3 separate regions of the Homo sapiens genome follow, and all the other regions are linked to region 2. The links are contacts of gene promoters, found by promoter capture Hi-C in blood cells and fetal thymus (Javierre and others, 2016). All regions are on one chromosome and are shown on one strand. Each heading gives the region's core, a stretch centred on a gene start or on the middle of the fragment in contact. The rest is flanking DNA. Distances are from core to core; before and after follow the strand shown. Region 1 holds the start of AKIRIN2 (akirin 2). Region 2 holds the start of PNRC1 (proline rich nuclear receptor coactivator 1). Region 3 holds the start of BACH2 (BACH transcriptional regulator 2).

The links. The method cuts DNA at HindIII sites, captures the fragments that hold promoters and counts their contacts. A CHiCAGO score of 5 or more calls a contact.
Region 1: a contact is called between the fragment with the promoter of AKIRIN2 here and a fragment that was not itself captured in region 2, in 1 of 17 cell types (fetal thymus). The highest score is 11.1, in fetal thymus.
Region 3: a contact is called between the fragment with the promoter of BACH2 here and a fragment that was not itself captured in region 2, in 1 of 17 cell types (fetal thymus). The highest score is 12.7, in fetal thymus.

Annotation. Positions count from the first base shown.
Region 1 is chr6:87,700,955-87,704,154 of GRCh38, forward strand. AKIRIN2 (akirin 2) reads right to left here and starts at 1,279. Exons shown (of 5, transcript NM_018064.4): 1 at 496-1,279. The coding sequence starts at 730. RefSeq lists silencers at 451-660, 841-1,010 and enhancers at 1,171-1,230, 1,541-1,850. The HindIII fragment of the contact is 11,354 bases long and covers 1-3,200 here.
Region 2 is chr6:89,080,000-89,083,058 of GRCh38, forward strand. It overlaps PNRC1 (proline rich nuclear receptor coactivator 1), which reads left to right and starts at 752. Exons shown (of 2, transcript NM_006813.3): 1 at 752-1,435. The coding sequence starts at 896. PNRC1-DT (PNRC1 divergent transcript) reads right to left here and starts at 581. Exons shown (of 1, transcript NR_187250.1): 1 at 163-581. RefSeq lists silencers at 377-586, 637-786, 1,177-1,556 and an enhancer at 1,465-2,425. The HindIII fragment of the contact is 1,631 bases long and covers 882-2,512 here.
Region 3 is chr6:90,295,413-90,298,393 of GRCh38, forward strand. BACH2 (BACH transcriptional regulator 2) reads right to left here and starts at 1,431. Exons shown (of 9, transcript NM_021813.4): 1 at 1,068-1,431. LOC105377891 (a long non-coding RNA gene) reads left to right here and starts at 1,827. Exons shown (of 7, transcript XR_942778.4): 1 at 1,827-2,324. RefSeq lists silencers at 610-669, 1,295-1,344. The HindIII fragment of the contact is 2,083 bases long and covers 212-2,294 here.

The DNA of each region.
Region 1 (3,200 bases), core at 29-2,528, 1.4 Mb before region 2:
TACTAAAATCAGCCGTGTCTGAACTGAAGGAGGGGCTGTAGCCTCGCCTCAAACCACCCAGTCCCAGAGTTAATAGCTGCAACCAATCGATTACGGCAAGCACACATCCAGATTGGGGTGAAATGTGACCCTTTCGCCTAAATTTACGAATAATATCGTCCTCTCTGATCATTTCCGCTGGGGCTCCAGCGACTACGGAAACAATTCCAATCATTCGGCCCAAAGAAAAAGATGTCCCTGTTCTACCCAATACGGGCAAGGCAAAGCCCCTACCCACCTCCAAACACTATCCCCTTGACATCAGCCCATTTCTATTGTGTCTTATTAGGTCCTCGGGCTACGAGGACCTAGTGAAAAACGTGGCTGCCCTACTACTTTGCTAAGAACAAGAACCACACAGTCCGGCACCCCCACCCCAGGGGCCGCATCCCACACCCCAGGACCCCTGTTCCCAGTTCTCTCCACTACCCCGGCGGCCGCGGGGCCGGGTCCCACCTGTGGTGAGGCGGGAGGAGACGTCGCCGAAGGGGGATGGCTCCATTCGGAGATACTTCTGCGGCGAGGCGGCCGCAGCGGAGAAGGAGGCGGCGGTGGCCGCGGCCGCCGACAACGGGGAGGCAGCGGCCGAGGTGGGCGCCGACAATGGCGCACATCGCCTGCGCTTCGGGGACGCCGGGCTCAACAGCGGGTCGAAATCCAGAGTCCTTTTCAGAGTGGCTCCGCACGCCATGGCCGGGGGCAGCTGAGGCGCCGGGCTCGGGTGGGGTCGGGGACGGGTGACGAAAGAAGAGGGTGAGGGAAGGGGTGAAGAGCGGGAACTCGAGGAGAGCCTACCCGACGGGCTCAGGAGCCAAGCGGGTCGCGGAGCGCCGGCTGTGGAAAGGAGAGCCGCTGCCGCCGCTGCCTCCGCGGCAGGGGCAGTGGCCAGGGACGGCCCGGGTGAGAGCGGGAGGGGCGGTGGCGGGCAGAAGCACACGCCAGTCGCGTCAGGGGGGTTCTTCCGCCTCCTCAGGCGCGGCTCCCCCGAGAGAGGCTCCGGCCGCCCCCGCCGTCCGCTCGAGCTTTGCGCCGCGCCTGAGGCGCTTCTGTGCTGAGACTAGATCCTTTCTGAAGTCGAAAACAGCACCGTGGGGTGTGAGGCTGGAACGCGGCTCCTAATACGCCCGAGTACGGTCAGTAGCTTGCGAGCGGCGATCGATGCAGAGAGATTGCGAGGTAGCTGCCGCAGCAGGAACCCAAGCGAACACGTCCAACCGCTTCCCCTCCCTCGTAGAACTCTCCCACCCGCCGCCGGCCCCAATATGGCGTCAATAACAACGCCGCCGATTCAAATCCGGCGGCCTCAGAGCGCTTGCGCACGGGGGCGGGCCAAACCGGGGATGCATTTTGGGAGTTGTAGTTTTTAGGTACCGGGAGGAATCGGCTTGAAAGGCGGGAAGGGAGGAGTCACAGAAACTACGACTTCCGTCATGCAAGGCGCGCGATTCCGAGTTCCGGGTTGGAATTTAAATCCCCCTACACAGCTTGAGTGTAAGAGGAACTAAGCAAAAGAGAAAAAAAGAGAAGGTTCTGAGACAGTGGGAGATGGGAAAGCGAACCCGTGGCAAAAGCAGGCTAAGCGACATAGAAATCTTTTAAGATTCTCCGTATAGTTGCTCCCACAGTGATTTCAGATCTGGGAAATATAATAAACCAATCTCTAGTCAAAGTTAGCTTAATTTCGGTAGCGACAGTACCCAAAACAAGACCTTTCACATGGAGAGGATAGGAGATAATGAGATTATGAAACCTATTTAGGACTGGCAGACAGAACAACAGTAATAGTATCAGGTTACAGGATCCTTGATTCAACTCGATGCTCTACCCTTCGGAGGTAGCTGCTTCATCCACTAATGAAATTCTGTAAAGCCAGCTTTGCTTCTGTAAATGAATAGGACTTGAACGACTTACAGAATCAAATTGTTTTGCGTTGGGTAAAAAGCAAGTGGTATCAGACATTGCATTACTTCTGTTGAATATTGGTGCATATATTGTGAACTTTGTTACAAAACTAATCAAAAGACAGTGAAATGTTTAGGTAATAGATATTGGATGGATCCATTTTGTAAGCGGAAGGGGAAAAAAGTGTTTCTAGAAGTTGTACTTTTAGTCACATACCTAAAATAAGAATCAAATACAGCGCTAATTTAGAAAGTGATCTGTGTAGCCGGGCATGGTGACTCACGCCTGTTATCCCAGCACTTTGGGAGGCCGAGGCAGGCGGATCTTCCTGAGGTCAGGAGTTCGAGACCAGCCTGGTCAAAATGGTGAAACCCCGTCTCTACTAAAAATACAAAATTAGCCGAGCGTGGTGGCGCGCGCCTGTAGTCGCAGCTACTCGGGAGGCTAAGACAGGAGAATCATTTGAACCCGGGAGGCGAAGGTTGCAGTGAGCCGAGATGTTGCCACTGCACTCCAGCCTGGGTGATAGAGCGAGTCTCTGTCTGAAAAAAATGAAAAGAAAAGAAAATGATGCCGGGCGCGGTGGCTAACGCCTGTAATCCCAGCACTGGGAGGCCGAGGCAGGCGGATCACGAGGTCAGGAGTTCGAGACCAGCCTGTTCAACATGGTGATACCCTGTCTCTACTAAAAATAAAAAAAATTAGCCGGGCGTGGTGGCGCACACCTATAGTCCCAGCTACTCAGGAGGCTGAGGCAGAAGAATCGCTTGAACCCGGGAGGCGGAGGTTGCAGTGAGCCAAGATCAAGCTACTGCACTCCAGCCTGGGTGACAGAGCTAGACTTCGTCTCAAAAAAAAAAAAAAAAAAAAAAAGTGATATATGTAGAAACTATCACCAGTGCAATATGAAACAATTTTGTGAATGCCAACTGTCAAATGATTATAAATACTGATTTCCAGTGCTCATGTATTCTTCTTTATTCAGTAACAGATGTTTTATAGCCATTTTGTCTATTATTTTTAAACCATATTTAGAAGTAGTTCAATATATTCTTTTTTATAGACAATTTTATAGAATTGTCCAGTGCTTCAGAGATCAGCAGTCCTGATCACACTGTGTCAACAAGTAAGCCCTTCTAGTTTTAATTTAGGATATTTGGAAATATCCTACATTTCCTACATTTGGAAAATCTTTTGAAAAAGATAAGCATTTAATGAAACAGCAGCTTAACTAAGACACCTACTAGGTAAATTTCTAG
Region 2 (3,059 bases), core at 447-2,946:
GAAATCAGTAAAAACTCCAACTTCCATTTATGGATTTACGGAGAACTTTTTATACATCGAGGGGCTAATTCAATCAGTAAGTCACTTTGATTTTTACTCTGATCACCGAGACTAATAAGCAGCGATGCCGAACCAAGTAAATGAAAGAATCGTGAGCCATACTTCAGTAGATAAAATTTAAATGTAGACTGATTTTCTTCACGATTGCTAGGGAAGAAATCCTTACAGCGTACTTAGAAATCTTTGTTTTAAAATGATAACGCTGTTATGTTGGGCTGAAAATAAAACGGATACTTCCCCAAGGTCAGCAGCGGAGGAGGCAACCGTGGCCTTGCCAAAGTCATCCCCTCTTCCCAGCCCCCGTTCTTCCTGCCGCCCTCCCCCTGCCCCCTCCCTTCCCCACCCCCATCAACAAACTCCGCCGGGACATTTCAGTACCACCACTCCCTAGCCCGGCGAAGCGCAGGGGCGTGCTGGGGAGGAGTAAAGAGGGTGGGGCGGAAACCCAATTTCATTGTTCGCGGGACCGATTCTTCCCAAAAGAGCTCGCTGGCAGCGCCTGCGCAGTGCGCCCTCTTTGTGCCAGGCTGCAGCAAGCTGGTTGTTTGTGTGTGTCTACCCGAAGCTGCGGAGGCGGAGCGAGGGGGCGTGGCCTGCCTTGTCGCACTCTAATTGGGCTTTCGCAGGAAAGTGGGCGGGCGCGGGGCGGAGCTTCCGATAACAACACTCGGAGCTGGGGCTGTGGCTATTTGTTGCTGCGCCGCCACCGCCCGAGTCATGTTCCGCGATCTTCTCAGGCTCTCCTAGCAGCATCCATCGCCGCCACCCTATCTTCACTGGCTTCATTCACCTTCTCCTTCTCTCTTCGTTGCTGAGCGACAAGCTTCCTAGCGCTATGACTGTCGTCTCCGTCCCGCAGCGGGAGCCGCTCGTCCTGGGTGGCCGCCTTGCGCCGCTTGGCTTTTCCTCCCGAGGTTACTTTGGGGCCCTCCCGATGGTGACCACGGCTCCGCCTCCTTTACCCCGGATCCCGGACCCCCGGGCACTGCCCCCGACCCTCTTCCTCCCTCATTTCCTAGGGGGAGATGGCCCGTGTCTGACCCCCCAGCCTCGCGCTCCAGCAGCTCTGCCCAACCGCAGCCTCGCCGTGGCGGGAGGCACTCCTCGGGCAGCGCCGAAGAAGCGGCGAAAGAAGAAGGTGCGGGCCAGCCCCGCAGGGCAGCTGCCCAGCCGCTTCCACCAGTACCAGCAGCACCGGCCGAGTCTGGAGGGCGGCCGGAGCCCCGCGACCGGCCCGAGCGGAGCGCAGGAGGTCCCGGGCCCGGCCGCCGCCTTGGCCCCGAGTCCTGCAGCCGCAGCCGGCACGGAGGGAGCCAGCCCCGACCTTGCCCCGCTGCGGCCCGCGGCTCCCGGCCAAACCCCCCTCAGGAAAGAGGTGAGGCCGCCAGGGGGCCGTTGGGGAGTCGGGCCCTTAGACGGTCGCGGCCGAGCTCTGGGGCTGCAGACCCTGCACCCGGGGGGTCGGGCGGGTGGGGGCGGGGTGGGGGGGGCGGCTGTTTACTCGGGAGGGAAGTTTCCGTGACGCCCGCTCCATTCTTGCTTTGGGGGAAGAAGGGGGAAGGGGAGGCATGCGCTGGCGCTTCTGATTGGCTCCCAGGAGTCGGCCAATGAGAAGCGCCGCTGCGCCCCAGCAACAGCCCCGATTTAGAAGGCTGGCGGCGTTCCAGGGGGTTTCGGCGTTCCGGGCGCGCGGCGGGGTGGGGGCAGGGACAGGGCCCGCGGGAGGGCTGACGTCAGCGCGCGCTACGTGCCCGGCGCTCCGGCGCCCATGAAGGAGGCGAGGCCGGGTGGGGGCAGCTGGGGAAGGACTGGGCCCGGCTTTCGGCCTCCCGGCTATCGGGAGCCCCAGTCCTAGTCGGTGAAACGCGGAGACGGCCTCTAACGTCCCGCCGTAGGGGGTGGAGTGGGCTCCGAGCGGCTGGGTTTCGTTTGGTTGGAGTTGTGCCAAAATGTGAGGTGCCCGGTGTGGGACGCGCAGTCCAGTTGGGGCTCTGCCCGCCTCGGGCCTGACCTACTTAGTGGTTCCAAGTTAAGAGTTGGCAGGAGCCGCACAAAACTGATTTTATTACTTTTGCCACTGTGGTACTTCGTGTTAGTGTGTCCAGAGTAAGTTTTCAGAAGAGTTAGCAATTGAATTGACTTAGCCCGTCTGATTGCAGTGCTATTGCATTAGGATAAAATGGATAGAAGTTTAAATAGGATTAAGTCTACGAAATGATTTCAAAGTCTTGTCAGAATAACGTTTTATGGACTTAAGTTCAATGACTTAATCTTCGTAATAATGAAATGAAAAAGTTCCCGTTATTTAGTGAAGAATGTTGCATTGAATTAGAGATTTGCGGTTTATCTGTGCCCTTGGGAAAAAATTTGCCCACCTTGTTTCTTTAAATTATCGTCTCAATGTCTCCCTTTTAAAATTCCACGACTTTTGAAATATCCGTGATTACCTAAAAGCTTTTGTGCTTGTTTCCTGGCCTGTTTTCTAGAACAGGTACTAACTAGGGAGCTCTGGCAGTGAACCTTATTGACGTGGAAAGTTGTGGTCCTCTTTCGTGTCGTGTCTTGCTTACTACCGCGTTACAAGTGTTGGTAGTGCAGTGATCTAGTGGATTACCTTACGCTTTTCCATCCTTTCAAGACTTCCTATAAGGCCCACTTAAGTTGGGAAAGATTAAGGTGAGTGAAGCAGCGTTCTTGAAGCAGTTACTAAACCAGAAAGGAGGTACACAGCAAAGATTGTTTCTGGCACTCGTATTTGGAAGAGAGCTCATTAGTCTTCCTTACAGTTGTAGAAAGGTGGACTTGGGTTATTTCAGACTTTTTTTAGTTTGACATTTTAGAACTGGTTCACGTTGCATACTGGTAACTAGCAGTGGTGATTAACTGCATTTTTAGTGGCGAACAAGAGTGAACTTAAAAGTCAAGGGAAATTTAAGTTTTTTGTTGTTTTTTTTTTCTTGAGACAGAGTCTGCCTCTATCGCACTCCAGGCTGGAATGC
Region 3 (2,981 bases), core at 181-2,680, 1.2 Mb after region 2:
GCTTGGCCAGACCGAGGTCGCCGAGATGCTCGCTCCAGTCTCTCCCCTCGTGGGCACCTAGGGTAGCCCGTGAGCGCCGCCCGCCGCCGTCTCCAGCGGCGCCGGGCTCCCGAACACCCGCCGGGTGAGCGAAGCACAGCGGGGCCACGGAGCGCCTCGACGCGGGGACGGGGAGGGCAGTGTCCCCTTCATAAACCAGTCTCCTGGGTGAAGCTTCTGGGGCTTGGAGACTGGAGTGTAGGGTGTGTGTGTGTGTGTGTGTGTGTGTGTGTTGCACCTTGACTTCATGGAGGATCTGTGGGAGAGGAGGTGCAAGGTTTCCCTCTCAGAAGCCTGGCGCCCTTAGGTCTTAGCTACGCGGGACGCTTTCCGACAACCCGATCTTTCGCTAGGAGAGATTCGATCCAGGTCTGCGCCGCGAGGCCCCCAGCTCGCCTCTTCCTGCGACCCTAAACTTGGGCTTTGATTCCCCGCCGGTCGCGGTGGTCCGGGCCACCCGGCGGCGGCTGACAGCTGAGCGCAAAGGCGCCGCGGCCAAGGTCCTCGCGGAGCAGCCCGGGATGCGCACGCCGAGGGTTAAGGAGGAGGCCGCCCGGCCTGGAGCTGGGATCGCAGGCTGGGGGCCGGGACACCCGGGCCTCGCCGGGCCGGGGGCAGGGCCGCGGGTCTGACAGCTGCTGCGGCTCGCGCGGACGCGCGCCTCCTGCAGCCCGCCCTCCCCATGCCTGACTTATTACTCTCTGCTCCTCCTCCCTCTGCTGTTCCAAAACACCCTTCGACGCCAGCAAAATACAATGCGCCTCGGCCGCCGTAAACAGCCGGGAGGGAGAGCACACATTCGGCGCGGCGCGGCCGCCGGCTCGGCTCCCACCCCCTTCCCGTTCCTAGAAAATGCCATAAAAGCGGGCAGGGCGCGGGGAGGGCGGCTGCGCGCCCGGCGGCCGGGGCTCCCTTCCCGCGCCGTTTCCCCACGCCTCCCCGCCCGCCCCGCGCGCCCGCTCCCCCCGCAAACTTGCCCCGCCACCCCGCCCAGCGGCGGGGCCCGGGGCCCGGGGCCCGGGACTCACCTCGCCGGAGAACTTTGCGTCCTTTTCCGCCTCCTCTTCCCCGCGTCTTCCCGGCTCGCAGCCCCCTCCCGGCAGCCGGCGAGGTGGGCAGTTCGTGGGTCACCGAAAGCTCGCGGAGGGGACGCGCATCACATGGCAGCTCGTTCCCAGCCCCCCGAGTGCGCCGGGAAGGGGGAGGGGAAGGGGCGAGGGGAGGCCGGGGGGAAAGCGAGAGCGGGGCGGCGGCGGGAGTGGGCAGGCGGGGTGGCGAGGGCGGCGGCCGCTCACGTTAGCGCTGTGCGACCGCAGCCCGGGCGTGCACGGCCGCTGCTGCCGCTGCTGCTGCTGCTGCTGCTGCTGAGGCGGCGGCGGCTCGGCGCTGTTTGCTCCGCGCCGCGCGGCTTGCGCTCTCCCCGGAACGCCCACACTCTCAATCGCTACATTGTTGACATTCGGCGCTGACGTCACCCGCTCCCCATTCACAATAACTTTACGGGAGCCGGGCAGCGCACCTCCCCGGCCGCTGGGGCGCGGTACGCCCGGCGACTAGCGTAAGCCGCTCCGCGAATGGCGCTCCGGGGGCTGGGGCGGGGGGCGGGGGACGGGGGCGGGCGCGCGCGCTCCGCTGGCTCGCGGGAGGGGGCGCGCCTCATGCCGCCGCAGCAGCAGATCTCCCCGCTTTGTGCGGCCGCGCGGCCCGGAGAGCCCCCTCCTCCCGGCCCGGCTGACCGCCCCGCTCGGCCTGGCCTTCCCGGCCACGAAAGACGAGGGTTGGGGGCATAGCAGGGTGAGAGTAGTGGTGAGGGCTGGTGTGGCACGTGGGGAGGGGGCCAGAGCCCTAGGTGCTGCACCTGGGGAAGGAGAGCAGACGTCGGGACCGGGGATCCCAGGGTTAGCTAGCGTTTTCCCGGAAGGGCAAGAAAAGATGCTCCACTGGCCCCCACAAAGCTGACCGGACTCCCTTTTGGGTGGGGACCGGGCGAGTAAAAGCAGCCTTTTGAATGTTGACTTCTCAATCCTTTTCAGGAGGCCCTCCGCCTGCCCTACTGAGCGAACCTTTAAGCCCCCAAGCCAGTGTTTTTGGAAAGAGAGTGGTCAATTTCAGGAGGACATTAAAAGCCAACCTCCCGGGCTTCAGCCCCAGCTCCTACTGCCTTCCAGCCACTCTCCCCTGCCTTTCCTTTCTGCGGCTCTTAGGATGTTGTTGCTGCCCTTAAAGGCCGTCGTGTGAGTGCCCTGTCAGAAGAAAGCTTGGTGGTGGTTAGGATTTTACAGAAGGTAATTAGGATTTAGGCTGAATGTACATTTGCAATAAAATAAGGTTGTGTTAGTGTTGTGCTGGTGCCTGCAACTTTACCTCTTGCCAAGGCCAGAAAATTCTGCCACGTTTCCCTAAACACCTATAACTTGGCCCTCTTGTGTACAGGCAGTATTCCATATTATTACACGTGGTGCTGATTTTTAATGAATATTATAAAAGTTTGGCTCGCTCTACTGAGAGAAGGATCATAAATCCCCCCTGTAAAACGGGCACTGGCGTATGCTGAGGAAGCAGTGAAGCGTCCTGGGAGTCTTGTGATATCATCTAAAGTGTTGCTCTGAACTACCTTCATTTGAGGGCAGAGTTTTGAAAGGCCCCATTTGGAATGTCTGTGTGGAAAGCTAAGTGATGGCTGAAAGCAAGCTGAAGGTGCTGAGCTAATTTTTCTAACAGCACTGCAGAGTCCCTGCGTGGAGGTCTGGCACGGGACTGTGAGATTTTCTCTGCTAACCGACCCGGCCTTCAGATAAGGAAAAGTCCTAGAGCTAGGAGTAGCCCTCAGTCTCCTGACCTCTGGTCTGGTGCCCCCTAGGACAAAACACCCTGCTTCTGAGGTCCCTGCCTGACCCCTGGCAAGGACAGAGTACTAATTCCTGGTCTGCCCTGGCCAGGCC